7 separate regions of the Homo sapiens genome follow, and all the other regions are linked to region 1. The links are contacts of gene promoters, found by promoter capture Hi-C in blood cells and fetal thymus (Javierre and others, 2016). All regions are on one chromosome and are shown on one strand. The core of a region is centred on a gene start or on the middle of the fragment in contact, and the rest is flanking DNA. Distances in the headings are between cores, read along the strand shown. Region 1 holds the start of CCDC59 (coiled-coil domain containing 59). Region 2 holds the start of CAND1 (cullin associated and neddylation dissociated 1). Region 3 overlaps NEDD1 (NEDD1 gamma-tubulin ring complex targeting factor). Region 4 holds the start of METAP2 (methionyl aminopeptidase 2). Region 5 holds the start of NR2C1 (nuclear receptor subfamily 2 group C member 1). Region 6 has its middle 4.6 kb from the start of CRADD. Region 7 holds the start of SOCS2-AS1 (SOCS2 antisense RNA 1).

What was found. Contacts are between HindIII fragments. The CHiCAGO score rates a contact against its expected background, and 5 or more counts as called.
Region 2: a contact is called between the fragment with the promoter of CAND1 here and the fragment with the promoter of CCDC59 in region 1, in 1 of 17 cell types (total B cells). The highest score is 18.7, in total B cells.
Region 3: a fragment that was not itself captured here is called in contact with the fragment with the promoter of CCDC59 in region 1 in 3 of 17 cell types (fetal thymus, total CD8 T cells and activated CD4 T cells); the score reaches 7.4 in fetal thymus.
Region 4: a contact is called between the fragment with the promoter of METAP2 here and the fragment with the promoter of CCDC59 in region 1, in 2 of 17 cell types (total CD8 T cells and non-activated CD4 T cells). The highest score is 12.5, in total CD8 T cells.
Region 5: a fragment that was not itself captured here is called in contact with the fragment with the promoter of CCDC59 in region 1 in 1 of 17 cell types (total CD8 T cells); the score reaches 13.2 in total CD8 T cells.
Region 6: a fragment that was not itself captured here is called in contact with the fragment with the promoter of CCDC59 in region 1 in 1 of 17 cell types (total CD8 T cells); the score reaches 6.0 in total CD8 T cells.
Region 7: a contact is called between the fragment with the promoter of SOCS2-AS1 here and the fragment with the promoter of CCDC59 in region 1, in 1 of 17 cell types (total CD8 T cells). The highest score is 7.9, in total CD8 T cells.

What each region holds. Positions count from the first base shown.
Region 1 is chr12:82,356,549-82,360,571 of GRCh38, forward strand. CCDC59 (coiled-coil domain containing 59) reads right to left here and starts at 1,839. Exons shown (of 4, transcript NM_014167.5): 1 at 1,675-1,839; 2 at 412-721. The coding sequence starts at 1,828. It overlaps METTL25 (methyltransferase like 25), which reads left to right and starts at 1,981. Exons shown (of 12, transcript NM_032230.3): 1 at 1,981-2,276. The coding sequence starts at 2,018. RefSeq lists enhancers at 1,648-2,208, 1,719-2,278, 2,209-2,769. The HindIII fragment of the contact is 1,548 bases long and covers 1,604-3,151 here.
Region 2 is chr12:67,267,276-67,271,298 of GRCh38, forward strand. CAND1 (cullin associated and neddylation dissociated 1) reads left to right here and starts at 2,083. Exons shown (of 15, transcript NM_018448.5): 1 at 2,083-2,510. The coding sequence starts at 2,443. RefSeq lists enhancers at 1,219-1,518, 1,659-1,918, 2,198-2,849. The HindIII fragment of the contact is 8,089 bases long and covers 1-3,312 here.
Region 3 is chr12:96,908,438-96,912,460 of GRCh38, forward strand. NEDD1 (NEDD1 gamma-tubulin ring complex targeting factor) reads left to right here. Exons shown (of 16, transcript NM_152905.4): 3 at 1,315-1,458. The coding sequence starts at 1,323. Among named protein-coding and RNA genes, the nearest start is that of NEDD1, 3.2 kb to the left of the region's middle. The HindIII fragment of the contact is 441 bases long and covers 2,032-2,472 here.
Region 4 is chr12:95,471,869-95,475,891 of GRCh38, forward strand. METAP2 (methionyl aminopeptidase 2) reads left to right here and starts at 2,284. Exons shown (of 11, transcript NM_006838.4): 1 at 2,284-2,462. The coding sequence starts at 2,312. RefSeq lists an enhancer at 2,101-2,500. The HindIII fragment of the contact is 1,745 bases long and covers 1,337-3,081 here.
Region 5 is chr12:95,073,274-95,077,296 of GRCh38, forward strand. NR2C1 (nuclear receptor subfamily 2 group C member 1) reads right to left here and starts at 345. Exons shown (of 14, transcript NM_003297.4): 1 at 107-345. It overlaps FGD6 (FYVE, RhoGEF and PH domain containing 6), which reads right to left. Exons shown (of 21, transcript NM_018351.4): 21 at 3,476-4,023. RefSeq lists a silencer at 1-42 and enhancers at 1-432, 123-442. The HindIII fragment of the contact is 2,182 bases long and covers 789-2,970 here.
Region 6 is chr12:93,670,722-93,674,744 of GRCh38, forward strand. No RefSeq gene overlaps it. Among named protein-coding and RNA genes, the nearest start is that of CRADD, 4.6 kb to the right of the region's middle. The HindIII fragment of the contact is 4,045 bases long and covers 230-4,023 here.
Region 7 is chr12:93,569,472-93,573,494 of GRCh38, forward strand. SOCS2-AS1 (SOCS2 antisense RNA 1) reads right to left here and starts at 1,927. Exons shown (of 4, transcript NR_038263.1): 1 at 1,794-1,927. SOCS2 (suppressor of cytokine signaling 2) reads left to right here and starts at 3,204. Exons shown (of 2, transcript NM_001270471.2): 1 at 3,204-3,565. The coding sequence starts at 3,427. RefSeq lists silencers at 971-1,020, 1,081-1,270, 1,641-1,920, 2,281-2,330, 2,341-2,650 and an enhancer at 3,868-4,007. The HindIII fragment of the contact is 2,692 bases long and covers 389-3,080 here.

The DNA.
Region 1 (4,023 bases), core at 589-3,088:
AGTGTTATTTTTCCCATTTTAAAGAAGAGGTCACTGGGGCACTAACATGTTGAGTCTGGCTCTAGAACCCATACTGTTAATGACTAAAATTATAACACCTCTCAGAAGTTATTTTTCAAAAATATAGTCATAACATATGGTCCAATCAAGTTACCACCTGTACTTGAGAGGAAGAAACCCAAATTCCAGAGCTCTTAATTCCCATTACGTTACTTTGTCAATTAGGCTAAACCAGCCTAATTCAGTTATTGAAGCTAAAAATAGAGCCTCCATGAAAATGTTTCCCTAATTAAACCGTGACTTCTAAAATGTGTTAAATAAGAAAAAATACAATTCCTATATAAATTATCCTATAGTACTTTTAAATAATAAAACAACACTTAAAGGATTTCAAATGAAGAAAATACATACTTTACTGTTTTAATACATTGTTCTTCTGGCTGAGGCTGGTCAAAGCTACACTGATCTTCAAATAAAGGCTCGTCAATGCTACACTGTTCTTCAAGCAACGGCTGGTGAACTTGTTCTGACAAAGGATGGTCGACTTTTCTTGCTTGCTTCCTATGTCTTTCCTCTTCAGCTAAATAGAGATGTTTCAGATTATCTGGGTATCGATCTGTGAATTGAGATTCCAGTGACGTTTGAGCCTTCTTTTCCTTCCGTAGCAATTTCTTGTAACTTTGCTGTATTTTCAGTTTTCTTCGAAAAGCAAAGCCTTGTCCTACATTGAGGAATATCATCCAAAATTACTTTCAGAGAAAAGAAGTTGAACGAAGAATGGAGCTGTTAATTACAAATGAAAACTTTTTTTACGTCATCACATTCAGATTCTAGTATTATATTTTGCTTTAAAAAATTATTTCAAGCAACAAATTTAAGCTGATGGATTGCATAGTAAGTTGGCCCTTTGCAAAAAGACCAGGCTAACAGTCATGCGGAAATCCAAGTAAGAATCTCAAAGAAAAACTGACCAGTTCAGACTGTTGCACAACTTGAGTTTACAGCTGTATTCACAAATCAAAACAAATTCCTTAGTTCATCTAAAACACTTAATCTGAGCCTTCAATAAATGCTTAAAAAATAGGAAAGAAAATGCCACATCTAGTATCTTGGACAAACTACATGTTTTCGAAAATGTTTCAACACGAAAGAAAAAGACAGTGTATGGTTGTCTGAAAAGCTAGCAATTATCGGAAGACTGAATTTAACATTTATATATTCCAAGTGGGATCTAAGAGACCTTACAGACAGCAATACAAAATGACAAACACAAATTAAAGCGAAGGCTGGAGGGCCTCGGGTATTTGTAATAAGGAAGAATTCGGAGCAGTGTTTCTGGCCCTGTCCTCCTCTCTATCCTTTACCTTACCACATGCGCAAGAGTTCACAGGGTCATAGACTCTCTCTGCTCAGTTTCTCAGGAAAAATATAGGAAAAAAGTTCTGATGAAATACAGGGTTACGTCAGAAAAGACGTTTAAATAATAGCAACACTGCTCCGTCTTCCTATCTAGAGCTCTGCGAAGCTCACAGCTTTAGCGGGCTCAGGAATGAATTCCCTTGCCCCAAGTAGGACCGGGTCTGGTTCCTAAATCCTTCTTCCAAGCTTCAGCGAATCTTATATCCTAAAACTTAGCAAGCCTGAGGATTTGCAAATGGTTGCCTTCTTACATACCCTCGCGAACGCTCCCCACGAAGGCTTGCGGGTGGTTAGGCCGCCATGTCTTCTGTCTCACATTCTTATTCCTGTACCCGACAGTGGAAACCCCTTCACCACGCGCCTCAATACCACCAGGCCGCCACTTCGCGGACCGCCTCACCGGCGCCATTGCAGCCGACTAACTGCGTCATCAGAAGACCACGACGGACGCCCACAAAATACGTCACCAAGCCGAAGCAATCAATCGCTCAGAAGGAATCCGGCTCGGAGCTCTACTGAGCCTGCCTGTGCTAATTTGGGCCGAGCTGGCGCCTCACGGCCATGTTTGCGCCACCTACAGCCTCGGAGGGTGAGCGTCATGGCGGCTTCTTGCCCTCTCCCGGTGACCCCGGACCTGCCCACGCTGCGTGCCAAGTTGCAGGGACTGCTGCAGTTCCTGAGGGATGCCCTGTCCATTTCCAATGCACATACCGTGGATTTCTACACAGAATCCGTGTGGGAGGAGCTGGTCGACTTGCCACCGGAGACAGTGCTGGCTGCGCTGAGGAAGTCAGCGTCGGAGACGGAGGCCCTGCCCTCAGAGACGCGCCCCCTAGTGGAAGCAGAGTGGGAAGCAGGTGGGTGGTGGGGTAGGCGGGGCGGGAAGGGAGGCGGAGGAGAAGGTCCCGGCAGACGAAGCGAGCCCCCTGGTGGAAGCCAGCAGAACCAGGTGCGTGGCGGCGGAGGCGGGGCGGCCCGCTGGGAAACCGAGGAGGGGTCGGATTAGTTGAGGGGTGGGGTGGGGATGTTCTTTGGAATCAGGATCACTCTTTCTTTGGGTGCTTGTGTATGTCCACAATTTAAAGAAAGCAGGAAACAGGGCAGGGGAGTTCCTTCATCTAGTAATTCCATAATAATTGACGCTAGGGAAACTAGGGGAGCAGTGCTCTCACAGGTTTTATAAATGCCAGCATGTGGTGGAAGATTACTCAACAGTTAATAAAGATAATTTCAAGTGGTGGTAATGAAGTAGAAAATAAAAACAGTGTAATGTGGTAGGGATTGTGTAAGGAGGCTGCCTCAATTTAGGAGGTCAGGAACATGAGAAGGCACTAGCTGCAGAGCCACAGGGAGGGGTTGCAGGCGGTGGGAACCGCAGGCTAGGCTTGGCTCTAGCCAGGTGAGGGGCTGCAGGTGCAGGACGGGAGGCAAGCAGAGGCCAGATGGCACAGGCCTTTCTAGGCCTTGGAAGGATTTTGGATTTTAAGTGTGACGGAAACCCTTGGGATTATTTAGGCAACATAGTGACCTAATTCACATTTGAAAAGATAACTGTGAATTATTTGAAGAATAGACTAGGGCAAAAGCTGAAGCTGAGAGGCCAGTTAGGAGACTACCTCAGTAGTACAACAGATGATTGTATCTTGGACTAGGATGGTATTCGGATAGTCACTATTTCATTTAAAAACTATTTTAAAGTACCTAATATGTGTCTTGAATTTTTGTAGGCTCAAGCTTTTCCTACCCTCAAGAAATGTAGATTCTTCTCAGGCAAGCATATTTTGGAAGTAGAATGATGGACACCAACAGGCTTCTGGGATTTTTACTTTCCTTCTAGACTTCCCAAAGTTACCCTTACTAGTGAACTTTATTCATTGAGCATTCTCTGAATGCAAAGCATCACTAGAGGGACCTCTTATAATAGCACTTGGTAAATACTGTTGTTGTTTTTTTAAGTAATTGTTATTGAAAAGTTAGGCACTTCTTCAGTTTGCTCTCATAATAAATATATGGCACTTATGATATGACAATTTTACTTAAACTCCAAAAGAGCAGAGTCTTTGTCTGACTTGTCAACTGATGTATTCCCAGCACTTGGTAAAATACTTGGCATACATTAGATACTGGATGAATATTTGTTGAATGGAGGAATTAATGAGTTACTCATGTTAGTTTTAAATAAATAAAATGAAACTACTCTCAAGTTTAGAGTGTAAGACTTTAATACGTGTTTAGCCTGGTCTCCAGACAATGGTAGAGTCAGATTGTCTTACATATTCTAATAATAATTGGATTATTTGATATTTACTATATACCCTGTAGTGTGCTAAGTGTCTTCATGTGTATTTTCTCTTTTAATCTTTACATCAGCCTTGCAAGATAGGTTCTGTTATTGTCGATTTGTGGAATTATAACTTGAGGAGTTAATTTGCAAGGGATATAGCTGATAATGGAAGATTCTCAAACCTGGGTCATCTGATTTGAAACTTTTTTAGTGCTGTAAGAAAAAAAGTATACTAGATAAGGGAGGAGTAAGTAAGGGGAAGAAGAGGAAAATGTTTGCATTTTTAAGTAAGTTGTCCTGGCAAGACCTCACTGAGGTGA
Region 2 (4,023 bases), core at 833-3,332, about 15 Mb before region 1:
TGGAAATTCAAAAGTGAAAGAATTTACACACAGAAAAAGACAAACCATGATTTGCTTTCTGAGTGGACACAGGCTAAAAGAAAGTATTATTGATAATACCAAATGACTGAGGCCTTGAGGTCCACACATACAAAAAAAGACCTGCTTCTTTGTGTGTGTGTGTGTGTGTGTGTGTTTTACATTAAATATGGTGGAAAGGCTATTCAGAGCAAAAGGCAATTAATTGTGGCTGAAGCACTAAGGACAGTTTGATGAAAGATATATTAATCATGGCAGATTGGTAAAATGAAATATGGCATTACTGGGGAGAAAAAATATCATATATTACGTATATATTATTATTATCATTTTAAGACGTTGTCTCACTCTGTCGCCCAGGCTGGAGTGCAGTGGCACGATCTCGGCTCACTGCAACCTCCGCCTCCTGGGTTCAAGCAATTTTTCTACGTCAGCCTCCCGAGTAGCTGTGACTACAGGCGCGCCACCATGCCCAGCTAATTTTTGTATTTTTAGTAGAGATGGGGTTTCACCATATTGGCCAGGCTGGTCTCGAACTCCTGATGCCCTGATCTGCCCGCCTCGGCCTCCCAAAGTGGTGGGGTTACAGGCATGAGCCACCGCACCCGGCCTTTATATTACATACATTCAAGTAGAAGGATACATGAGAGCAGATCAGAGGTATGTGTGAAATTTAAACACATATTATGAGGCTAAACCAAGTTTCATCTGTTTTATTAACTCCTATTGCCTGACTTTGAAGTACTCAGTAATAGTTGATGAATACAGAAAACAATGGTAAAGGTCAGGTAGATTTGATCGGATTTGAGTTATGTGTTAGTAGAGAGCTATTTAAAGGTTTGTTGTTGTTTTTAACAGGAGTATCAAGTGAGATTGATTTTTCATCTCTTCACCAGGCTCTCTGTTCTTTTAGAAAGGCCTGTCAGCTAGCTCCATCCCTAACACTTTCAGGGATGTTGACCCCTAGCTGGCAAAACTTGTGTTTAAAATCCCAAATATTAAGCAGATGAAAAACTTGGATACTAAATACTTTCATAACTCATCTCCACGAATTTGTACGTCTGAGGGAGCAATACACAGCTGCAGGTCCATCAAGGCCACAAAAGCTAACTACAGAGATAGTCTTTTAGCTATTTTGAAATCAGTAGGGCCTGACTACAGCCATCTGTCGCATACCCATTACTCTTACTAAGGTCCTGCTGGCGTCAGAGAGGTGGTTCTACGATGCACGGTAGGAGTGTGTCTGGCCAGAGAAGTGGGGAGGCTCAGCTGCCTTGGGAGGTGCAAGTAGTAGCGCTAGGAAGCTGCTGCTAGGCCTCTGGCAAGAACACCAACTGATCCGCAATGCGCCTGGCCAAACTGCAGCAGCCTGCTCTGCAAATACTGCATAACAGAAAAAGCCTGTATTGGAGAATATAAGAATCCGCGGCAGAAACGGAGTGCGCGACGATTCTAAGGTTTTTACCCAGCACGGCTCCCCCATCAGACTGCAAATCCCAGCATTCACTCCTTCCACGGGAGCCAATGAGGAAGCTACTAGTTCCCGCAGCCAATCACATTCTGAGCCAGTGTATCACCCGACTGAATTCTGGGATTTGTGGTTTTTACGTGGCAACATTACACCACGGTGGCTACGGCAATGCAGGCCACGCGTCTGATCCCAAACGACACCTCCCTGTTATAAATTCTTATGTTGGTTCCGCAAGCTAACTCCTTAACTGTCGTTACTCCCAGGCTTCCTCCTTCTCAAAGCTCGTAATCTTTTTCTCTTAATGTCATTAAACAATCAAGTTATTTTCAGATTAAGGCCCACTTGCTCCACTCGTCCCCTGTCCCTTAACCGTCGCTTTAGAGTCTCGCGAGAACAGCCCCTTTTTTTTGTGTTGTCATGCCTCCAAAAGGCGGGTCACATGAAAACTGACACAGGCTTCAGCCAACCGAATTGTTTTTTAACTCTCTTCTCCACAGCGTGCGTGGGGAGGCCTCCGTGAACTCTGACCTTAGCTTTCCGTAGCGCCCGCGTCTGCCGCCCCCGCCCCCGGAGCGAAGGAGGCGGGCTTTGGCCTTTTGCCCTAGGGAGCGAGTGCGGAGCGAGTGGGAGCGAGACGGCCCTGAGTGGAAGTGTCTGGCTCCCCGTAGAGGCCCTTCTGTACGCCCCGCCGCCCATGAGCTCGTTCTCACGCGAACAGCGCCGTCGTTAGGCTGGCTCTGTAGCCTCGGCTTACCCCGGGACAGGCCCACGCCTCGCCAGGGAGGGGGCAGCCCGTCGAGGCGCCTCCCTAGTCAGCGTCGGCGTCGCGCTGCGACCCTGGAAGCGGGAGCCGCCGCGAGCGAGAGGAGGAGCTCCAGTGGCGGCGGCGGCGGCGGCAGCGGCAGCGGGCAGCAGCTCCAGCAGCGCCAGCAGGCGGGATCGAGGCCGTCAACATGGCGAGCGCCTCGTACCACATTTCCAATTTGCTGGAAAAAATGACATCCAGCGACAAGGACTTTAGGTGAGGCCGAGATCCGACCCTCACCCCACCTCGGGGTTCTCGCAGCCGCGGCCCTGGCCGTCACGCAGGCCTTGCCCCACCCCTTCGGCCGTAGCCGGTAGCTTCTCTGCCCCGAAGTCTCCAGCCCACCGGTCCGCTGGCCTCCCGATCCCTGCGGAGCCCCTTTCCTCTCCCCTCTTGCAACCCCCTCCCCCCATTCTTTCTCCTAGGCAGTTGCCCGCCGCGGTCTCTAGGCCCCGTTTGCTTGTCTCAGCGCCCCCACATCCTTCCCTGCCCCACCAGGAGGCGATTCTTGCGTCTCAGGTAGCGCGAAGGGGCTAAACCACCCACCATTGTGGAGAAGGGAGTTGCTCTAGGCCGGGAGACCGGGCGCCGGGCCTATTCGCTTGCCATCCTGCGGCGCTAGGCCGCCTTGCTCGCTGGGGCCCAAGCTGCTGCCCACTCGGGGACCCGGCAGCCTCCTCTCTGCCCGCAGGTGCGCGTGGGCCTTGCTGCATTCAGGTGGAATGATGAACTTTTGCGCTCTTGGCTGATACATAGTTCTTTTGTGGATTATTAATTTTCGTGAAGGTGGGAAGAAGGGGGAGGGGAGCCAGGATGGAGGAAACTTCGCTCATAGGGTTTTCCCGCCAGCATCACTGTCAGTTCCTCTTGTCAGGTAAAACCAACTTAGGAACTCGGGGTTTCAGTCTCATGTCCTCATATCCAAAATCACTGCCAAAGGGGTGGATTGCTGGATCTTAATCATAGCAGACGGATCTTCAAAAGGAAGAGATGTTTAATACGGACCTGGTGAATATGAAGCTTTATTACAGCAGTTCTGTTCAGGAGATCGGTACTGTTGGTTCCAAAGTGTTGTAATATGCATAGTGAAGATTTGTTATATTTTTACAGGTTATCTTTGTTTTTATTTTTCCTTGCACGCTTCGGTGATTGTTGCATTCTTTCCCGCCTCCCATCTCTTCACAAATAAGTTCTCAATCTAAAAAAAAAAAAAAAAAGAAAAAAAAATCGCTTATTTCCTTATACCTGTTTTGTTCTCTAATGCTTAGTGGTTGTAATTTGGGTGCATTTTAAAGGAAATAACAAATAGTCTTCAACTAAAATTGTGACTAAAGAGCTTGTTTGTTTTGTATGAACAATATGTTTTAACACTTGAAAATGTGTCCAAACCGTGTGGACTGGGAAGAACTTTTCGGATTTGTGAAAGGAGAACCATGAAAAAGTAGTAATTGTGTTCCTGATTAAATTGATATACTGGCTTATTAAAATAATCAATGACCACAAAACCACGTATTACTTTAAAAAATATTTCTACCTAGGCAGCTCTTAAATGTATTTAAAACTTAAAAATCATTTCGCTAATGGTAAAAATTTTAGTATTGTAACTTTTTGGAGGTGACATGTTTGTTTTGTGTGTTTTAGATTTGTGTAGTTCTAGGGCCAAAATTAAGATTCTTGGGGGAAATAAAGGTTTTGTGTTGTTTTACGGATTGGAATGCCGTTTGATTTT
Region 3 (4,023 bases), core at 1,002-3,501, about 15 Mb after region 1:
TCTGTGCCCTCTCCCTTTCCTTTTCTCCCATGTACTTTTGAGCATCTTTTTTTCTCACTTATCGTTCATTACTACCTGTTGCTCTTTAAAGTGCCTGTCTAGAGCAGCTTCTTTGCCTTCTGTTTTCTAGACTTCCTTGGTTTGTGAAATCACCTTGTTAGAATTACGTGTTTCAGCTGTATGCTCTGAATAAATGATTGAAGGCATCGTAGTCCAAGTATTGGTATAGGGACTTAGTGGCGTCTCATTTGACCATATTGCTAATTTTAGAGTTTTGGAAAAACTGGTGTGACTGGATTCTGACCTGCAGAAATGCTAGTTTATCATACTTTTTTTAAAAATTAGGAAGTTACTTATTAGTAGTTATTTGTTGTGAAACTGCTGTGTGCCAGGAATGTTTCAAGACTCTGGTGTGGGGAGACAGACATTATAAGAACAAATAAAAATTTCAGATAGTGGCTGGGCACGGTGGCTCACGCCTGTGGTCCCAACACTTTGGGAGGCTGAGGCGGGCAGATCACCTGAGGTCAGGAGTTCGAGACCAGCCTGACCAACATGGAGAAACCCCGTCTCTACTAAAAATACAAAATTAGCCGGGTGTGGTGGTGCATGCCGGTAATCCCAGCTACTCGGGAGGCTGAGGCAGGAGAATCACTTGAACCTGGAAGGCGGAGGTTGTGGTGAGCCGAGATCACACCATTGCACTCCAGCCTGGACAACAAGAGTGAAACTCCGTCTCAAAAAAAAAAAAAAAAAATTCAGATATTAGGAAGTGCTATGAAAAAAATGAAATCAGGTATTGGGATATAGGGTAAACTGCTAAGTCCCTTACCAGGTAAGGAAGGGACTGCGTTAGCCAGGGTGGTCAGGAAAGGCCTTTCATAGGAGGAAACATTTGAGCTAAGACCTGAATGATGAGAAGGAGATGACCATGGGAATCTGGGGAGAACATCTTAGGCACAGGGAGCAGCAAATGAAAAGACACTGAGGTGAGAATGACTTTGCCTTTGCATGAGGCAGAGAGAAGGCCAGTGAAAAGAAAGAGGAGAGTTACATGGGGGCCAGGACATGTAAGGCAGGCTAAGGAGGCTGGATTTCATTATCATTACTGTGAGGAGCCATTGGAAGGGTCAGCTAAGAGAATGCGACCTGGCTTATGTTTTAGGAAAATCACTTCAACTGCTTTGGTGACTGCACTGTTTGGAACAAAAATGAATGAGTTAGAGCCACTTGTTTTAGATTAGATTTTGACCTTTTTTTGAGTATGTCTATTCTTAAATGTTTTTAAAATACATTGTTTTAAACTATTTGTAGGCGCAGTCATGCAGGAAAACCTCAGATTTGCTTCATCAGGAGATGATATTAAAATATGGGATGCTTCATCTATGACATTGGTGGATAAATTCAACCCACACACATCACCACATGGAATCAGCTCAATATGTTGGAGCAGCAATAGTATCCTTTAAAAAAAAAAAACACACACACACACACACAAACCGCTTATTAGGTTAAACAACCACTGTCAATGAAACTTTTGCATGTGCCTCATACTGAGTAATGTGTTTTGCATTGCTACCAAGGATAGATAACGTAAAATAGTAATTTACAAAACAATATATCATATGAATGCACTCTGATTTTATCTGTTGCGTTCATTTAAAAAAAATTTAGTTACAACCCACTTCATTTGAAAACACTGCTATTAAAAAAAGTATATTCTGTCTACACCATAGAATTAGTTATCAAAAATTTCTTATTGAACCAAATGGAATAAGGTTGGTAGTTGTGGAAATAATTCCAAAAGGTTTTGGAATGAGTTTTTGCATCTACATTTGGGTATTTGTGGATCTGAACTGAAAATTAAAGACAGAACTTGAAGGCAGAAGCAAGTTGGGGAGGAGATAAAAAATTGCCCAATATCTCCATCTTACTAATGTACTCTCCATATCTTCCTTCCTCTCTGTGTGTGTGATGAAAATTACATTTCCTAAACAGACATAGTAAAGTTACCTAGATTGAACTTTTCTAAGCTTTTTATGTTTCTGATTGACACCTTCCCTGTCTTGGTGAGCTCCTCAATGTGGATAAAATAAAATGAGGGAGTGAAGACTGTAAACTAGGGTTTCTGAACCCTGTGCTATTGACTTTTTGGGGCAGAAAATTTGTTGTGGACCTTTCCTGTATGTTGTACCACGTGGAGGTTTATTGGTCTTCACCCGTTAGGTACCAATAGCCTCTAGTTGTGACAACCCAAAACGTTTCCAGAATTGCCTGAATCACTCCCAGTAGAGAACCACTGCTGTGACCACAGTGCTCCTATCACCTTTTATGTGAAAATGTTTTATGTAATTGGTATGTTAGAAATTTTCTTTTGTGAAACTCATACGCTATTTCTTAACAAATTAAGATTTAACATTTATCTGATTTTTATCAACACCAAAGTATTCTACTTTCTGATAAAAAAATCAAAGCTTTAAAATGTGACTGGTTCAGGAACAAAAATATTAAAAGTTTTATATGACTTACTATTCTTGCATGTATATAACAAGAAGGACAAATTTTCTTACTGAATTAAATTTACCTCCTTATCATTCCTTGATTTTGCAGTAAAACAAATTACTTTGGTACTCTGTTAATCAAACTCATGGTGAAGTGACTACATTTTTGAAGGACTTTCCAGATGTGTAATAGGGAAAATATTTTAAAGAGAGCGACAAGTATATGAAGTTGCTGTTCTCTATTTTTAGATTTTCATTATGTTTAGAGCTTAATTTTCCCTCTTACTATATAAGAGAAAGGTAGCAATTTGTAGTAAGATTATTTTTTGGTTGACTTTTGTTTTAAGTTTTACTAGGAGTTGGCATTTACTGATGTGCTACTTAATAGTCTAACAACAAAACTGATGTAGCTATGAGATAGTGTTGTATGACTTTTGGAAATTGGTCTTACAGTTTTCTTGCATGAGCAGATGTGCACTGAAAGCCTTCATACAGTCTTATTCTTAATAAGGCTTTGATCACTTCCATGGAGGTTAATTACTGAAGAACAAGGAGTTCCCAGCCTTAGCAACTTGGGGTCCACATAGTATAGATTCCAAGAATGGGGTTAATGTGAGACACCAGAGAGATTAGTTTTTTGTTTCTTGTCCTTTAACTTACGTTCCTCACTTTCTCATGATTTCTAAAACTACAAGAGAAATAAAAAAGAACTAGATTACCCACCCACATTATGTTTCAGTCCTTTTTTTTCTATATTCTAAGGAGAAAAGTAGTGGTAAACAGGAAGAAGTCAAGGAAAGGGAAATGGTTTTTCTCGCTATGGTAATATCTAGGTAGGAATGATTTGATTTGCATCATGTATCATAATAAAATTACAGTCTATGCTCTGTTTACAAAATACCTGAAAGTTATACAGAACATTCAAAAGTTAATGCAGTTAGGGATTCTGAGTGTCTAATTAACCTTTCTCCATTGCTTTTACTCACAGATTTTAATTGCTAAAAAGCACAGATTTAAACTTCTGATATTTTAATTTGTTATGGCTCTCAAAATCAGACTCTTATTCTTAGTTATATTATTGTATTTAATCATTTTAGTTTTAAAATAGTTACTGTTTTGTGTTTACTGATTGTTCCATTTACAATTCGTGTAAAAGAAGGTAAATAAAATTACATTTTATTTAAAAATTAAAACTCATAACACAATTCCTATTTAACCATACATATTTATAAAATATTTGCAAGTTACTGTAATAGTCATTCTTAATTTAAGATTGAAACATTCTATCACAAAAATTCATGTTCTGGGAAAATATCAGGCCTTTTTTTTTTTTAAATAGAAAAATAGGAGACTAGTGTGGATGTTTGCTTCCTAGTTTAGATTGTTACCAAGCACTAGGTTAATAAATATCTTGAACAGTTTCTGTAGATGAAAAGGTTGATTGATATTTGCTGATGCTGCTTTTATCATGCTCTCATTCTTGAAGGATAAAATTAGCCCTTCTGGCCTACTCTTTGAAAAC
Region 4 (4,023 bases), core at 1,034-3,533, about 13 Mb after region 1:
GCCTGTAATCCCAACACTTTGGGAGGTTGAGGCAGGTGGATCACCTGAGGTCAGGAGTTTGAGACCAGCCTGGCCAACATGGTAAAACCCCGTCTCTACAAAAATTAGCTGGGTGTGGTGGTGGGCGCCTGTAATCCCAGCTACTTGGGAGGCTGAGGTAGGAGAATCGCTTGAACCTGGGAGGCGGAGGTTGCAGTGAGCTAAGATCAGGCCACTGCACTCCAACCTGGGTGATAGAACGAGACTCCGTCTCAAAAAAAAAAAAATACTCTCTCTAAACCTTTCCCCTCCCCTTTGCCTATTTATCCTTCAGATCTCAGCCTAATTGCTACTTCCTCAGGAAACTCTACCAGGCCATCCTACCTAGGCAAGTCCCTTTGTAATATGCTCTCATAGCAGCAGTTGTAAATTTGCTTTTATTAGCATCATTGCTTGATGTCTATTTTTGTTAACTGGCTCTATGATGACAAGGATCATCTCTGTTTTTGCTCTCTAAATATTGCCAGATCTAGGTTTATAGTAGGCATTGAACGAATGGATGGATGAGTGAATAAGTGAATATGTCAGCCAAGCAAAGAGCAGCCCAGATAAAAGTAACAGTGAGTTTGAAATGCTCCAAGGTCAGAAAGAGCTTTGAGAGCTGGAGCTATAATAGTAAGAGAGTGGAGACATTGGAGAAGTAGATATGGCTGGGTCTTGCCGGGCATTTTAAAGGATTTTGGACACATGGAAGCTACTTCTATTTTTATTTTTGTGGTATTATGTTTGGTTTACCAACTTTTTATTTTTTATTTTATTTACTTTTTTGGGGGGGATGGAGTCTCGCTCTGTCGCCCAGGCTGGAGTGCAGTGGCGCAATCTCAGCTCACTGCAACCTCCCCCGGGGTTCAAGCGATTGTCCTGCCTCAGCCTCCCTAGTAGCTGGGACTACAGGCGCCTGCCACCACGCCCGGCTAATTTTTGTATTTTTAGTGGAGACGGGGTTTCACCATATTGGCCAGGCTGGTCTCGAACTCCTGACCTTGTGATCTGCCCACCTCGCCCTCCCAAAGTGCTGGGATTACAGGCGTGAGCCACAGCGCCCGGCCGGTTTACCAACTTTTATATTGCCAGCAATCAACTAGGGAAAACAATTTAAAATCTAAATAGGGATAGATTTAAAGAGATAAAGATCTGTACAAGAATAAGAGGAACAGTTTTTATTACTATTGGATAGGTGCTGCCTGAAGCTTTAAGACAGAGAATGTACATTTATGCAGCTGCAGTCAGAGCCTGTGTGAGGTTTACTGTAAACTCACTGGCAATAAGGCTCTTAACGACATTTTGATGCCCATGAAGCTTGGTGCCTAGTTTAAAACTAATGAAAACACCTAAACTCTCCAGGTGGACAAAGCCATATTCAGGAGAAATTGAGAAGGAGTTGGTGCAGGCAGCCAATCACAATCCACTTACGCCACAAACTAAATCTCAAACTGCGGTTTGAACATGAGGCTCAAAACATAAGAAGTAAAGAAATGGGCAAAATTCAATTAGTTTCTGGTGAAACGTCCTAAATCCAAAAGAAAGGTGACCAGAAATAGAGAAAACGGAGTGTGATCTTTTGCATTAATGAGAGAGACCGTGTCCCCGTGTGTTAAAACCTGTCATTCTTGTCCTGAATTGGAAAGTGAGCGGAGTGTGACGGGTTCCCATCTTGAACCGTCCGGGGTTGAGTAGTACAATAAACTAACACGGAACTCCAGCTTCCAAAATTCTCTCCAGTGCCTACAGAGCCTCGCGGAGAGCTGTGATTGTGAATGTCAACGCAGATTTGATTAAATCTCTTAGATTTAAGAGATATGTGGAGTCATGACAATAGAAATGTGTACAAGTGAACACATTTCTTAGCCCGTTTCCCCACTGCCTGTGTGATTTATAAAAACGCAAATATAAAATATTTCCGTTCCAGCAGAGACGCCGCTTGCTACGGCGGGTTGCCCGTCTCCACAGGTATCTCCGGCTGACTCTAGAGCTCAACTTCCCCTTTAAACTTCACCCTGCGCTTGCCGATTTGCTTCGGGAATGCCCGAGGCACCGGACGAAGCAGTCGGGTCTGGCCCCAGTCGACTCCAGCCAGGCGGGGCTCCAAGCCGAGACTCCTGCACGCCCGGCCCGAAGCTAGCCCGACACCCTCAGCTGAGTCCTCCGCCGTCCCAGCATTCCCTGCGTCCCTACCATCGAGAGCAGCTTCCGGCGTGGCTGGTGTAGGCGGGTGGAGAAGGATCGGGGCCCTCGCCGCTCTGTCTCATTCCCTCGCGCTCTCTCGGGCAACATGGCGGGTGTGGAGGAGGTAGCGGCCTCCGGGAGCCACCTGAATGGCGACCTGGATCCAGACGACAGGGAAGAAGGAGCTGCCTCTACGGCTGAGGAAGCAGCCAAGAAAAAAAGACGAAAGAAGAAGAAGAGCAAAGGGCCTTCTGCAGGTAAAGAGAGTTTTATGTTTTCCCAGTCCCCTCCGGGAACGGCTGAACTGTTTGGCTCAGGCCCGTTGAGGGGGCCGGGACCGGGGCCCCAGAGCCCCGACTAGACTGATTCTTGGGCCTGACAGGGTGGCAAAGCCGGGCTATAGATTCCTAGTCTGAGAAGAGGCGTCATCTCCTCCTGTGGGACTAGAGGGCTGGTGGGGGAGAAAAGAGTGCCTGAGGTTGGCGTGTGGTACCTCTGGGGTCGCTGGGCCCGAGCCCCTGTATTACCAGAACTCAGCTCCCACGCACATCGTGGCACGGTCTTGAGATTGTGCGCAGAGCACAGCCCTACCATCTTTCGCGCGATTTGGCCGCCGCCTCAAAAATCCGATTCTGATCCGTATTGCCGCGTCTTTGCTGGTTTGCTGGAGCAAGCTAGGACTTATTTTCTTTGGGGGTGGGCAAATGTAATGGAGAGCACACCTCCTCCCACTATCCCGTTTCACGTTGGGGTTGTTGCAGCCTGCACTTTTGGGGTGTGTGTACATGTGTGTTTGCCCGCGCGCTCATGTCATTAATTGCAGAATTTGTGGTGGTGATAACGAATTTTCACCTGCCTAATCCCATAGCATCGCCAAGCTTTAGGGCCTTTAGACCTGAATTATGATACCAATTGCAGGCAGTGCAGATAGGATATTCTGTGGCTCAGAATGGAACTTCTGAGGTCTTAACCTCTAAATCCACTGGTAAGGCAAGGAGAACTGCTGAGAGTTTACAGTTGGATATTATGAACTAGGAACTTACATATTTTGAGAAGTCTGTGTTTTTGCTGCACAAGCTCCTTCACCTTAATAAAAATTATTTTTACTTGTTTCTAATTAAAATCGCCAGAGAAACAGAAAATGGAGAAGTCAGAAGCGATTAAGATGGAATTGAGAGAGGTCGAAGAGAGCTAATCTTCATCTTTCTGAAATTTTGATTAGATAGGAATGGAAGGAGAGTTGTAGCGTTGCTGGAACTCTTCCAGAGCAAAATTTGTTACTCTGGTGGCTGTTCCTGGATTTCGAGTGAAATTCAAACACTGCTGTTTGTCTTGTAAGGTGTTAAGCTGACTGATCCTAATGTATTTTTAACAGTTGTATTTCTTAATATGAATTCTCTCCAGTAGCCAGAATGTCACTTCATTTCGTGCTACCTGATACTATTAATGCATGTAACATATTGCTCTTATAGGTAGGTTATAATCACTTCCAGAGCAGGGGCCTGGTCTTGTGCTTAGATATTTGAGCGTTTTAGTTTTTTAGTAATGGACTGTCTTTGCCTATTTATTTTGACTTTACCCAGCCCATCGTGATATCCTTATTCATGAAACCAGGCTGCCCCGGGGTGTTGCACATGAATCTTTTTCCTAAGGCCTTCAGCATTTATTACCTATCTGGTGTTTAAGTATTTGTTAAGTCTAATTGCTGACCACTATTACAAGTTAAACTACTTGAGGATAGAGACCAGTTCACGCTGTTTATCTTTTAGCTGCTAGTGTGTGTAATGGATATTTTGTTGAGTAAATTAATGAATGGAC
Region 5 (4,023 bases), core at 630-3,129, about 13 Mb after region 1:
GCCGGGGGATGCGCTGGGACCGCGTCCGTTGGCGGTTGGGGTGAAGGGCACCCCCTGGCCCCCGCCCCCGACGCGGTCGCTGGTGTCCCCACCCAGCGTTTCTTACCGGCGCTTTTGCGCCCTGCTGACTCCGGCGTCGGGCGCCGACGCGACAGTCCCGCGGCTGCCACTCGTGGATTGGGGGGCGCTCCGGGAAGAGAGGTTGAAGAAAGCCGACGGGATGTGGGATCGAGATTCACGGCGGAGAGAGCTTTCTGTGTTTGGGTATTTCTGGGGGGTCAGAGTTCGTGACCTCTTTCTCGGCTCGGCGGCGCGCTATCCCGCCAGCGCCTGCGCATTAGCAACGGGGAGAAGCGGCGAGAGGAGGTCGTGACGTTCCCAGGGTGGGGTGGAGGGATCGGAGGGCCGAGCAGCGGCTCTGTGAGTCCACTGCCCCCTTTTGGCTTGGAGGCAGAGTGCCCCGCCAGAGCTACGCGTTCCCAGCCAGGTAATTTTTGAAGCCACGTGCAAAGGTTTAAGCATCGTTTGCCAAAGGTGGGCATTAGGGGAGGTTTTGAGTCAACGTTTTAGATTTGAGTAATAAATAACCCTCTGGGTCTTAGGCATATCTGTTTCTAATTTCTGGAAAACTGGGCTCTGGGGTAGAGTCCAATCATATTTAAACTTTTTTTTTTTTGTATTACACTTTAAGTTCTAGAGTACATGTACACAACGTGCAGGTTCGTTACATATGTATACATGTGCCATGTTGGTGTGCTGCACCCATTAACTCGTCATTTACATTAGTAAGCTTTATATATAATGACAAGCTGAGGCCGACTCATGCAAATGGTAAGGCAAAGTTTCACTTATAAACTGTTGTGAGTAAAGAGACATAATGGCTAAACAGGGCAAGAATATAATCACTAGAGACTGGGCACGGTAGCTCACGCCTGTAATCCCAGCAAGTTGGGAGGCCGAGGCGGACGGATCACTTGAGCCCGGTTGTTTGAGGCCAGCCTGGCCAACATGGCGAAAACCCGTCTCTACAAAAAAATTAGCCAGTCCTGGTGGCGCGTGCCTGTCGTCCCAATTACTTGGAGGCTGAGGTGGGAGGATCACCTGAGTCAAGACGGCAGTGAGCCAAGATCACACCACCGCACTCCAGCCTGGGTGACACAATGAGTCTTTCTCTCTCTCTCTATATATACACACACACATATATATGTATATTCCACATCCTCTCTATAATATATATATTATTATATATTGAGGATTATCCTCAATGGCCGTTTTTTGTCTGTTTTGCTCAGTGATGTATTACCAAGCACATAGGACAATGCCTGCTATTCAATAATGATGTATGAAATGAAAGCCAGGCAAGTGGCTGCTGGGAGGCCAAGGAAAGATCACTTGGGGCCAGCAGTTGGAGACCGGCTTGGGCAAGATAACAAAACCCTGCCTCCACAAAAAAAATTTTTCAAATTGTGAAATGAAGAGACATTGGTGGAACATCGCATTCTGACAGTGGCCACCTGTAGTGGCAAGGTGTGGCAGGAATAACTGCCCTGTGTGCAAAGTACTCTGCGCTTTAGATTTTGAAGCATTCTTGAAATTTCTAGTTTTTTTTTAAATCTCCTTTGTTTTGTCATGAAATTTCTATTTTATCTAGCTTAGGTCGGCACTGTAGGAAAGCAGCCACAAACTCAGGGCAGAAATCCAAGGAAGGAAAAACAAACGTTTGCTGGGAATGAGAACATCTCTGTTATTTCTCTCTGGAACTAGGCAGACGGACAGAGATCAAGGCATGAAACAATCCCTAACAAGTAAAAATATGCTTTATCCCTCATTAAAAATCCACCTCTGCTGAGCACAGTGGCTTCTGCCCCCAGAGCCTTGGGAGGCTGAGGTAGGAGGCTTGCTTGATGCCAGGAGTTTGAGACCAGCCTGGGCAACATAGTGAGACTCCATCTCTTAAAAAAAAAAGAAAAAAAAAAGGCATGGTGGTGCAGGCCTGTATTCCTAGTTACTGAGGAGGCTGAGGTGGGAGGATTGCTTAAGCCCAGGAGTCTGGTCCAGTGTTGGCACCATTGCATTCCAGCCTGGGCGAGAGTGAAACTTTTTTTTTTTTCCAACCTCTACCTTTTAGCATTATTTGTTGTGTATTTGGTTTGGTTTTAAGGGAGACCCCTGCCAATACCATAAGCTGGTCCCAAAGGTGAAAATTATGAAAGTATAGTCACGTCAGGGATATGTTCTGAGAAATGAGTCCTTAGGCAATTTCATTTTACTCTCATCATAGAGCGTACTTATACAAACCTAGATGGTCTAGCCTAGACACACCTAGGCTGTATGTTGTAGTCTGTTGCTCTTAAGTCACAAACCTAGGACAAACCCGTACAGCATGTTACTGAATACTGTAGGCAGTTGTAACATAATGGTAGGTATTTGTGTATCTAAATATATATAAACATAGAAAAAGTAAACTAAGTCCTTTTAAAAAAAAAGTGCAGTAAAAATAGGGGATTATAATCTTATGCAACCATTATTGTATATGTGGTCTGTCCTTGACTGAAATATTGTTATGCAGTGCATGACTGCACTATAGGCCTAATGGATACAGGCAATCTGAGACCTCTTCACTATTCTTGGTGGAGAATATGTATGCCTATAGTGATGCTTGTGGTTACCCCTTATCACCCAATTAATTCACTTAAGTCACAATAAGTTGACTTGTTAAAACTTGGAAGTAGAAGCCATTTTAGGAACATCATTTGTAGGTGAAGAAGCGTTTCCATTAATTATGCTTCAGGAAAAGAGGTAAATGAAGTTTATTTATTTTTGAGACAGAGTCTCACTCTGTTGCCCAGGCTGGAGTGCAGTGGCTTGATCTCAGCTCACTGCAACCTCCGCCACCTGGGTTCAAGAGGTTCTTGTGCCTCAGCCTCCCGAGTAGCTGGGATTACAGGCGCACACCACAATGTCTGGCTAAGCTTTTTGTATTTTTAGTAGAGACAGGGTTTCACCATGTTGGCCAGGCTGGTCTCGAACTCCTCACCTCAAGTGATCCGCTCGCCTTGGCCTCCCCAAAGTGCTGGGATTACAGGCATGAGCCACCGTGCCCAGCCGAAGTTCATCTTTAAATGTGTGACTCTAGCCGAAGTTCATCTTTAAATCTATGATGCTGGCCAGGCTCAGTAGCTCACGCCTGTAATCCTAGCACTTGGGGAGGTTGAGGCGGGTGGATCACCTGAGGTCAGAGTTTGAGACCAGCCTGGCCAACATGGTGAAATCCCGTCTCTACTAAAAATACAAAAAATTAGCCGGGCATGGTGGTGCGCACCTGTCATCCCAGCTCCTCAGGAGGCTGAGGCAGGAGAATTGCTTGAACCCAGGAAGTGAAGATTGCAATGAGCCGAGATCGCGCCACTGCACTCCAGCCTGGGCGACAGAGCAAGACTCTGTCTTGAGGGGGAAAAAAATCACACCAACAAAATATATTATAGTAAATTTATTTTGTATAAATACATATTAACATTATTTACAATGCTAATTTTTTTATTTATAAAGTATATATGGACAAAAAGATACAAACTGTTATCATTTTAAGTACAAAGTATTTCTAGAAATACATTATAAGCCATTAAAAAAAAAACGATATTTCAAGATTGGTTCTTACATGCTATGACCAACTCATATGAAAGAGCAAGTTGCTCCCCCTTCATTCCTTCCCCCAACTCCAAAGGGAAAGGAATTTGATATTTAGGCTTTAAAAAATTTCCTACTACCTTTATCTTTTAAAAAACCCTACTCAAAACAACTATCTCTTATAAGGGAAAATATCATAGATAAGATTTTCCTTTAGAAAATGACATTAAAAGTGGCATGAGCCCTAGAATGATATGTGTATTAGAGGCACTTAAAAAAAATCAGAAGGGATCCATAGGAAGGAATTTAATTCAGCAAATACTGAGTGTCCACTGCATGCAAGGTACCCTGCCAGAAATCTCAAATGAGTAAGTTGTCCTTAGGGATAGAAGGTGC
Region 6 (4,023 bases), core at 1,002-3,501, about 11 Mb after region 1:
GGAGGCAGAGGTTGCAGTGAGCTGAGATCATGCCATTGCACTCTAGCCTGGGCAACAAGAGTGAAACTCCATCTCAAAAAAAAAAAAAAAAAAAAAAGAGATACAGCAGAGGCTTTTGATGGCTTATTGTCAGAAAGAACAGCCAGCATTAATTATGTGGAAACAAAAATCATTACATTTAGCAGTCATTTAGTTTTTAAATGAAATTTATTAAGTAACCCCAGATAAAAGCTTTCTTCCTTCAACTACTTGGGACATTTACTGATAAATCATCCTGGCAGACCAATGGTGAGGTAATTCTGATTGGAAAGAAATTCTCAGTAGGGTCCACGGTGAAGTTCTTTTGTGGTCAATATGGCCAAATAAAATACTCAGGGATTTTTTTGGGGGGAGGATGTCAAAATAACTTCTTTATGCTTGGTGATGTCAAGTTCTGTGATCTCCAAATACTTGGCCATCTTCTGAAACAGGTTCAAACTCTTTTTGTTGTACATTGAGAAACATCTTGGCCCTCTTCCCTGGTACCAGTGCAGCCTGCTTCTATGTCAATTTGCTTGAACGAGAATGGAAGGTTAGCTATTAAATTGTTTGCCACAAAATGTTAAATCAGTCCCCTTCATGTCTGCTATCTGAACCGTATGTATTTCTCTTCCATCAATGATATGCAATGTCAGCCCAGTAGATATTCAGCAGAGATTTTTAGCTATTAAATTTTGCTATTCAGAATACTGAAGTTCAGGGTTGTTACTTAGTACCTGAGAGAATCTAAGTGGCATTCATTTACTAGTTTCTTTCAGTCCCTGCATGTAGTTATATCACCAGAAAGTCACTACCTGGACTGCATTATCTTGTGGTTTATATTGGGTTACGATCAGAAATGTCATTTGAAGAACATTTTAGTATCTTATGCAAAATAACACGAGAAAATGGCAGTTTATTAACTTATCTGATATTCCTTATAGAAAGAATCATATGATAAATTGCTGCTTGAAACCAGTGCCAGAGAAATATTAGTCCCTTTAGGTGACTCAGTATATTTTCTTTCTTTGAGAGATGAGAACTCTACAGTAATATGAATGATGTTGTCTTTTTACTGTGAGTGCCAGGAAACTAAGAAGTTATTTTAACATGTCCTCATACCTTTTTGTGTCCTAATACCTTAAATTCTTGATTTTTGTTTTTTTTTTAATCCAGCTGTTATTTATTTATTTATTTATTTACTTATTTGAGACAGAGTTTCTCTCTGTTGCCCAGGCTGGAGTCCAGTGGCATGCTCTCAGCTCATTGCAACCTCCACCTCCCAGGTTGAAGTGATTCTCCTGCCTCAGCCTCCCGAGTAGCTGGGATTACAATCGCGTGCCATCATGGTGGGGTAATTTTTGTATTTTTAGTAGAGACGGGATTTGGCTATGTTGGCCATGGCTGGTCTCAAACTCCTGACCTCAACTGATTTGCCTGCCTCGGCCTCCCAAAGTGCTGGGATTACAGGCGTAAGCCACTATGCCCGGACATCTTTTAAACGTGTGTAGTACAGTTTTATAACTCCTGCCAAGTCTTTGGAAGAAAACTAGGAGAAAGGTCATCTCCTCAGAGAGGCTTTCTCCGAAGACTGAATTAGAATCAGCTCCCATCTCCCAGCCCCTGAACCAGTTTATCTTATTAAAGCACCTTTCCTTCATTGCACTTATAGTAATTTGTAATTATTACTTTTGTTTTGTTTCCTTGTTAAAGTTTGTTTTCTCCACGGGATTCTAAGTTCCATGAAGACTAAGACCATCTCTGTCTTTCAGTGGGTTATCCCTAGCTGACCATAGCATGTAATCAATGCTCAATAGAAACTTCTTGTTGTCAATTATTAATAAATTATAATAGTCCTAGTATTACCACCACTAAAGTCTTATGGTGTAATGCTTCAAATTTCTAGAATTGTTGGAGTATTAAATTAGTACATGATACTCTGCATAATAATGTATTTGGCTCTTTTAAAAGGTTTTTGTAAATAGTCTCAGGATTTTTACAACAAACAGTAATTAAGATGAAAATTAGATAGCAAAGAATTGAATGAATCATTGGAATTCATAACTTAGTAAAATAATAATTTATTAGTGCAGATGATATTATCTACAGCATATCTTAATCAAAAGTTATACAGAAAGAGGCAACACTTGCATATTTCAAGTGAGTTTTTTTTTTTTTTAAGGATTTACAGTTACAGGGATAGATGTCTGTATTTCTTTTGACAAATTCTTATTTCATCTCTTTTTGGGGAGCGTTGGTCCAGGAAATAGAGACCATATGAAATTCTATGCTGCATGTCAAGAAAATAGCTAAGATAAAATGGGGACTAGGAATTTGGTCCCAGAAGTTTTCATTTCTCCCTGACTATGAGCAAGTCCTTTATGGAGTTCCTTTTCTCCTTCTTTCTCTTCTGATCCTCCCTCTCTTGCTCCTTCCCTGCCTCAAGTTGTCACACCTCCTTGTCTTCTTCAATCTGTAACAATTTCTCAGTCTTTCATGACCTTGACACTTTTGAAAGTACTTGTCAGATATTTTGTAGTGGCAAAAACCACAATTAGTTTTGCAACAACCTAACAGAATATCTCTCAGTTTGAGTTTGTCTGATGTTTTCTTACAAAAACACTGAGGTTCTGAATTTTAAAGGAGAATATTGCAAAGGAGATATGCCTTTCTTGTCACATCGTATTGGAGCACATGATATCTCCATGACTAATTACTGGGGAGGTTTAACCTTGATCACTTGGTTAAGGCGATGTTTGCCAGGTTTCTCTACTATCACGTTTTTCTTTTTCTTTCTTTCTTTCTATGTTTTATTAGTTATACAGGTGTGACTTTTTTTTAAACCCAAGGGTTTAAGAATTGTTTTATTTAGTTTCCAAATTTATGGGATTTATGGAAGCTATCCTTTTGTCAAAATATCTAATTTTATTGTATAATTATAGAGTACATAGTTTGTATGCTAGTGATTTTCAGGAATTTATTAATGCTTCTTTGTGACCTGATTTATGATCTATTTTAATAAATGTTTCAAGTATGCTTGAAAAGACTCTGGTTTTCCCCATGACTTAATTTCTACATCAATGAAACAGGAAGAACCAAAACATCCAATTCCTTTTATTTATTTTTTGAAGGCTGCAAAACCAAAGACCAAACCGAAAGAGAAAAATACTGCATTTGTTCTTTTTGACTCTTTATTTTGCAAACTCACAATAGGGATATCTTGACACAAGTAAACATACTAGGGGAGAGAGAAAAATGAAAATATCTGTCCTTCCTGTGGATTCGTTACCACTGGGTAACAGGTGCTTAATCCTCCGTGGGGGCACAATTTCAGATTACAGAGGGTCTGGCCAGAGCGGAGGAGTAACCACCTGTGATAATGATTCTGATCTGTGTTCCATTCCTTAGAAGCCCTCTGGCCTTAGCTAATCTGTCTAAGTAAAGTTGGGTCTTTGGTGTACTGCCATGAAGTATCGCTGTATGCTGAGGTGGGGTGGCTGATGGCAGTGGGCTAGTCGTTCAGCCTAGTTGCTTAAGAGACAGCATGGATCCTCATCTGTATTTGCCATGGGAAGAGGCATTCGATGATTAAAGACTTCACGCTGCAGATTTAAGTCAGATCTTTAATGGCCACCCTTTCAGGTTGTTTACCATAGGACGCCATGCCCCTCGGCTGCTGCCCTGACACTCTCCTGCTGTCTCTGGCTGCTTCTCTTCTGTGAACCCTCACGGATCCTATTGTTGGTTCCCCACCTCCTCCTGGGCATCATCATCAAGGCTCACCTTCTAGCTTCTAGGAGATCTCAAGCCTTTCCAAATATGATGAGTCATCAAGAAATATGAAACTTTATATGGGCGTTTATTGCGCTATTTGTTTCAACTTTCCTATATGTTTGAAATTTATCGAAGTTCACAGTTAGAAAAAAATCCACTTGCTTTTCCTCTCTAAAAAAGTTAGTATAGGTTGATGATCCCTTACCCAACATGCTTGGGACCAGAAGTGTT
Region 7 (4,023 bases), core at 677-3,176, about 11 Mb after region 1:
TTCAACTACTTTGTAGAGGATTTTAACTAGGGTTCAGTTAGCTCCGCCCACACTATAAAAGGCTCTTTCTAAAAAACGAAACATGATTAAGGGCACACGGCTCCAGCGTTAACAAAGCTCTTTGTTAGCTGGGAAATGCCCCCCTCCCCGACTCATCTGCTTATCATCTGCATAGAATTATGTACTCAAAAGCAGGAAAATTATTGAGAAAACCATTGGTCCCCGGCTGCAGACCCCAAGGTTGGGAGCTGGTTCCCGTTTCCTCCCAGAGCCGGCAGGGGGGGCACCAGGCAAAGTTTGCAAGACGCGCCTCCCTCCCACCCCTCCCCCTTCCTCGCCCAACTTCCCATAGCCGCGGCCTCAACTAAAAGTGGCCATTGACCTTTCAAGCTTTCGAGCAGTGATGCAATAGAATAGTATTTCAAAGAAAAATGCTTATCGAAATTTTGGATCCGGTTTTCCCGTGATTGTTAAGGGTTTCTTTTAAAAAGTAGGTCACATTTCAAGTAGGTCATATTTCGGGGGCGGGTGCGCAGACAAGGAGATGAGTTTCCACTAAGGCCAGGGGGCCTCCAACGGGGTTGGAGGTGAGAATCCCAGGTAGGGTAGAGGTGCCGAGATCCTTCCGAATCCCAGCCCTGGGGCGTCAGCCCTGCAGGGAATGGCAGAGACACTCTCCGGACTGAGGGAACCGAGGCCAGTCACCAAGCCCCTTCCGGGCGCGCAGGTAAGGGCGCCCCCTTAGCAGCCGGCGCAGGTGACCCGGGCGGGCCGCCGGGTCTACCGGAGACGTTGGAGCAGAGGGGAGGAGGAAGGGAGGAGCCGGGTGGGTGCGGGTGACAAGGAGCCGGAGCGCCAGGGGGAGGGGACTAAGGACGGCCGGCGCCGCTTAAGGAGGCGCTGCTCTCCCGCTCGCTGCCTTCCAGGACCTGATCAAGGGGACCGCCTCCGGTCCCCGGCCGTGGGCACCGGGACGAGCACGGCGTCCCCACGCCATCGATGTGTCTTAGAGCCGGAGAGTCTGGTTTCCGAGGACCCACAGTCGCTCCTGCACGCCCACCCCCCGCAAAAGTGCGGCCAGGAGGGTCGCATCGAGGGGGCGCCGCCGGGATGTTTAGAGGAACCCACCCCCGTGGCAGGCCAAGGGCCAAGGATCGCTATCCTTCCCTGAACCCGGGCGCTCAGCTGGCCCGGGTAGGGGGCAGGCTCCGGCCGCCGAAACGGGGTTGGCTGTAGCCGGTGGCCGGGGAGATCTCTAGCTTGCGCCCGAGCACCCCGGGGTGTGGGGCCAGAGGCAGGCCGACCCCGGCGTGCACACCGCCCGCCCTGCACCCGAGCGCTCTCACCCGGTCTTCCCTGAAGCCTGTGTATTGCGACCGAGCCTCTTTAAAGCAGTAGCGGGGCCCGCGGTCACGTGAGGCCGATTCCTGGAAAGTTCCTGGAAAGCCGCCTCCGCAGCAGCCGGGCGGGGCGCGAGCGGAGCGCTGACTGGGGAGGGAGGCGGGGAGCAAGGGAGGCGCGTCGGTCTGGGAAGTCGCGCGCACTCGCTGCTCCTGGGACCGACGTTTAACTCTTGCCAAGTCTCGTCGCAGCCGCCGCGGCTGGCGGGCCTTGGGCTTCCCCTGAAGCATGAGCCCTCTCGCCCGCAGCCACCCTCACCGCGTGGCCCGCGGACAGTGCGCGCCGGGGTCCCGGGTGCACAGCCTCAGGATACCCCGTGCCCGCAGCTCGGGCGCCCGCGGCAGGTACCGGTAGTGGGGGAAGCCCGAAGGCTCCGCCCCGAGGAGAGTTACCGGGGAGGGCGGCGAGGCGCGGCCGCGTGCGCCGGGGAGCGGCGGACGGCCTGGGCTTCCGCAGCTCGGAGCGCCGGGGAAGAGAGAGTCCGAACCGCGGCTCTGCCCCGCGGCCTAGCGTTGCTGCCTGCTTTCTCCAGCCCCTTCTCGGCGTCTGGAAGTGTCTGGAGTTTCTTTTTTTTATTTCCCCTAAACTGCCATTCAAATTAATAATCCTCCTAATAACCTGATCTCCCGCTCCTCCCCACCGGCCTGCCTCCCGCCCTCGCTCCTTCCTCCCTCCCTCCCTCTCTCCTTCCCACCTCCAGGGTCGCAGCCGGAGGGAAACCCGGCAGCAGTCCGAGAGTGGAGGTGTCCCAGCCCGTAGGGGGCGTCGCCGCGCGGTGGGGGATGGGGTCGAGGCAATGATCCTCGAGGCTTTTGTGTGCCCTCTGCGCACGGAACTCCGACCGCCGCCTCCGAGCGCGGGGCTGGTTGCATCCCCGGGCATCTCGTTCCCAAATTAAACGTTAACGGGGGAAACAAGGGCAGACGCCCCTCCTCTCCCGGGCCCCTCCCACCTCCCCTTTTCCCCCCACCCCCCCGCCCCATGTCCGCTGAGGAGGCTGCCTGGTGCGGAGGCGGCGGCGGCGGCCGCGGCCGAGGTCGAGGTAAGAGCGCGGCGTTGGTGGTTTGCATTTTCCGCAGCGCTCGCGACCGCCCGCTCGGCCCCGGCCTCGCCTCGGAGCCCCGCGAGGGCTGCGCGCTCGGGCCGATTCCTCGACAGCGCCCGCGGCGGCGAGAACCACCGCAGCCATCCTGGTCCGGGAGCGACCGCCGCGGCACCCCCAACCCCGCCAGAGCGGGCACCAGGAAGCGGGGGGAGGGGAGCGAGGAGCCTCCCGGGCGGAGATGCGGCAGCTCCCGCACCTCCGCACCCCGGGTTGGTGCCTCGGGGCCCCGCAGCGCTTTAGGGCGGAGAACCAAGTTTGTGTGGGTGCTTCTTCCTGGGGGCCCTCGGGCTGCGCCAGGTGTGAGACCGGAATGCCAATTTGGGGAATCTCTCCTGTTCTTTCCTTTTTAATTTTTTCTACTTGTCCTTGACAAGGGCCTATTCCCACTGGATCTGCAGGTGACTATTTGCTCTTCCTAGGTCGCCAGTCTTTGATTTCAGCTAGTGACCCTGGGCGGGAAGACACCCTGTTCACCCTCCTCCTGACCTCCGCCCCCCACCTCTTCAGCCAACTTTATCTTGGATCTCTGCTCTCTTTATCTTTTCTCTAGAGCTGGGCCAGGGCGCTAACTGGAAGCTTGGGGTTAAATGGTGCAGGAACGTAGAGGCGGAGGAGTCCCTGGGATTTTCCACGTCTATTTCCCCACCCCCACCCCAGCCGCAGGGGTCCAGTTTGGACTGACCCAACCTCCCGCTTTCTCTTTGTAGGCGATCAGTGGGTGACCGCGGCTGCGAGGGACTTTGTCATCCGTCCTCCAGGATCTGGGGAGAAAGAGCCCCATCCCTTCTCTCTCTGCCACCATTTCGGACACCCCGCAGGGACTCGTTTTGGGATTCGCACTGACTTCAAGGAAGGACGCGAACCCTTCTCTGACCCCAGCTCGGGCGGCCACCTGTCTTTGCCGCGGTGACCCTTCTCTCATGACCCTGCGGTGCCTTGAGCCCTCCGGGAATGGCGGGGAAGGGACGCGGAGCCAGTGGGGGACCGCGGGGTCGGCGGAGGAGCCATCCCCGCAGGCGGCGCGTCTGGCGAAGGCCCTGCGGGAGCTCGGTCAGACAGGTAGGGAGCCGATCGGCCGCGACGCGTGCGGGAGGGAGCGCCTCCCCAAGGAAGCAGCTAGGAAGCGGGGTCGAGGTGGGAAGCAAAGAATAAGATGGAAATACGTCCCTTGCTTCCAAGGGACCGCGGAGAGCACGCTCGCAGGGTCCTGGGTCCTTGGGAATGCGTAAGGAAAGTGGTTCTCCAGGGACTCAGGCCTGGCGGAGCGCAGAGCGCGGGAAGAGCTTCTTGGAAATAGCTTCTTAGCACGCTGGAAGATTTACTGTTTTCCGCAGCTGCTCAGGGTTAGGCTCCCGGGCTCGAACCCCGGCCGGGGAAAGCGTCGGGCGCCTCCCTTTGCACGGGGTGCAATCAGCAAGTCGGTGCCGCGGGCCCCGCAGGCCCAGCAGCATCTGGCTCCCGGGCGGAGCTGCGGCTGCAGCCCAGGATCTTGGCGGCCAAGTTCAGGGACTGACACT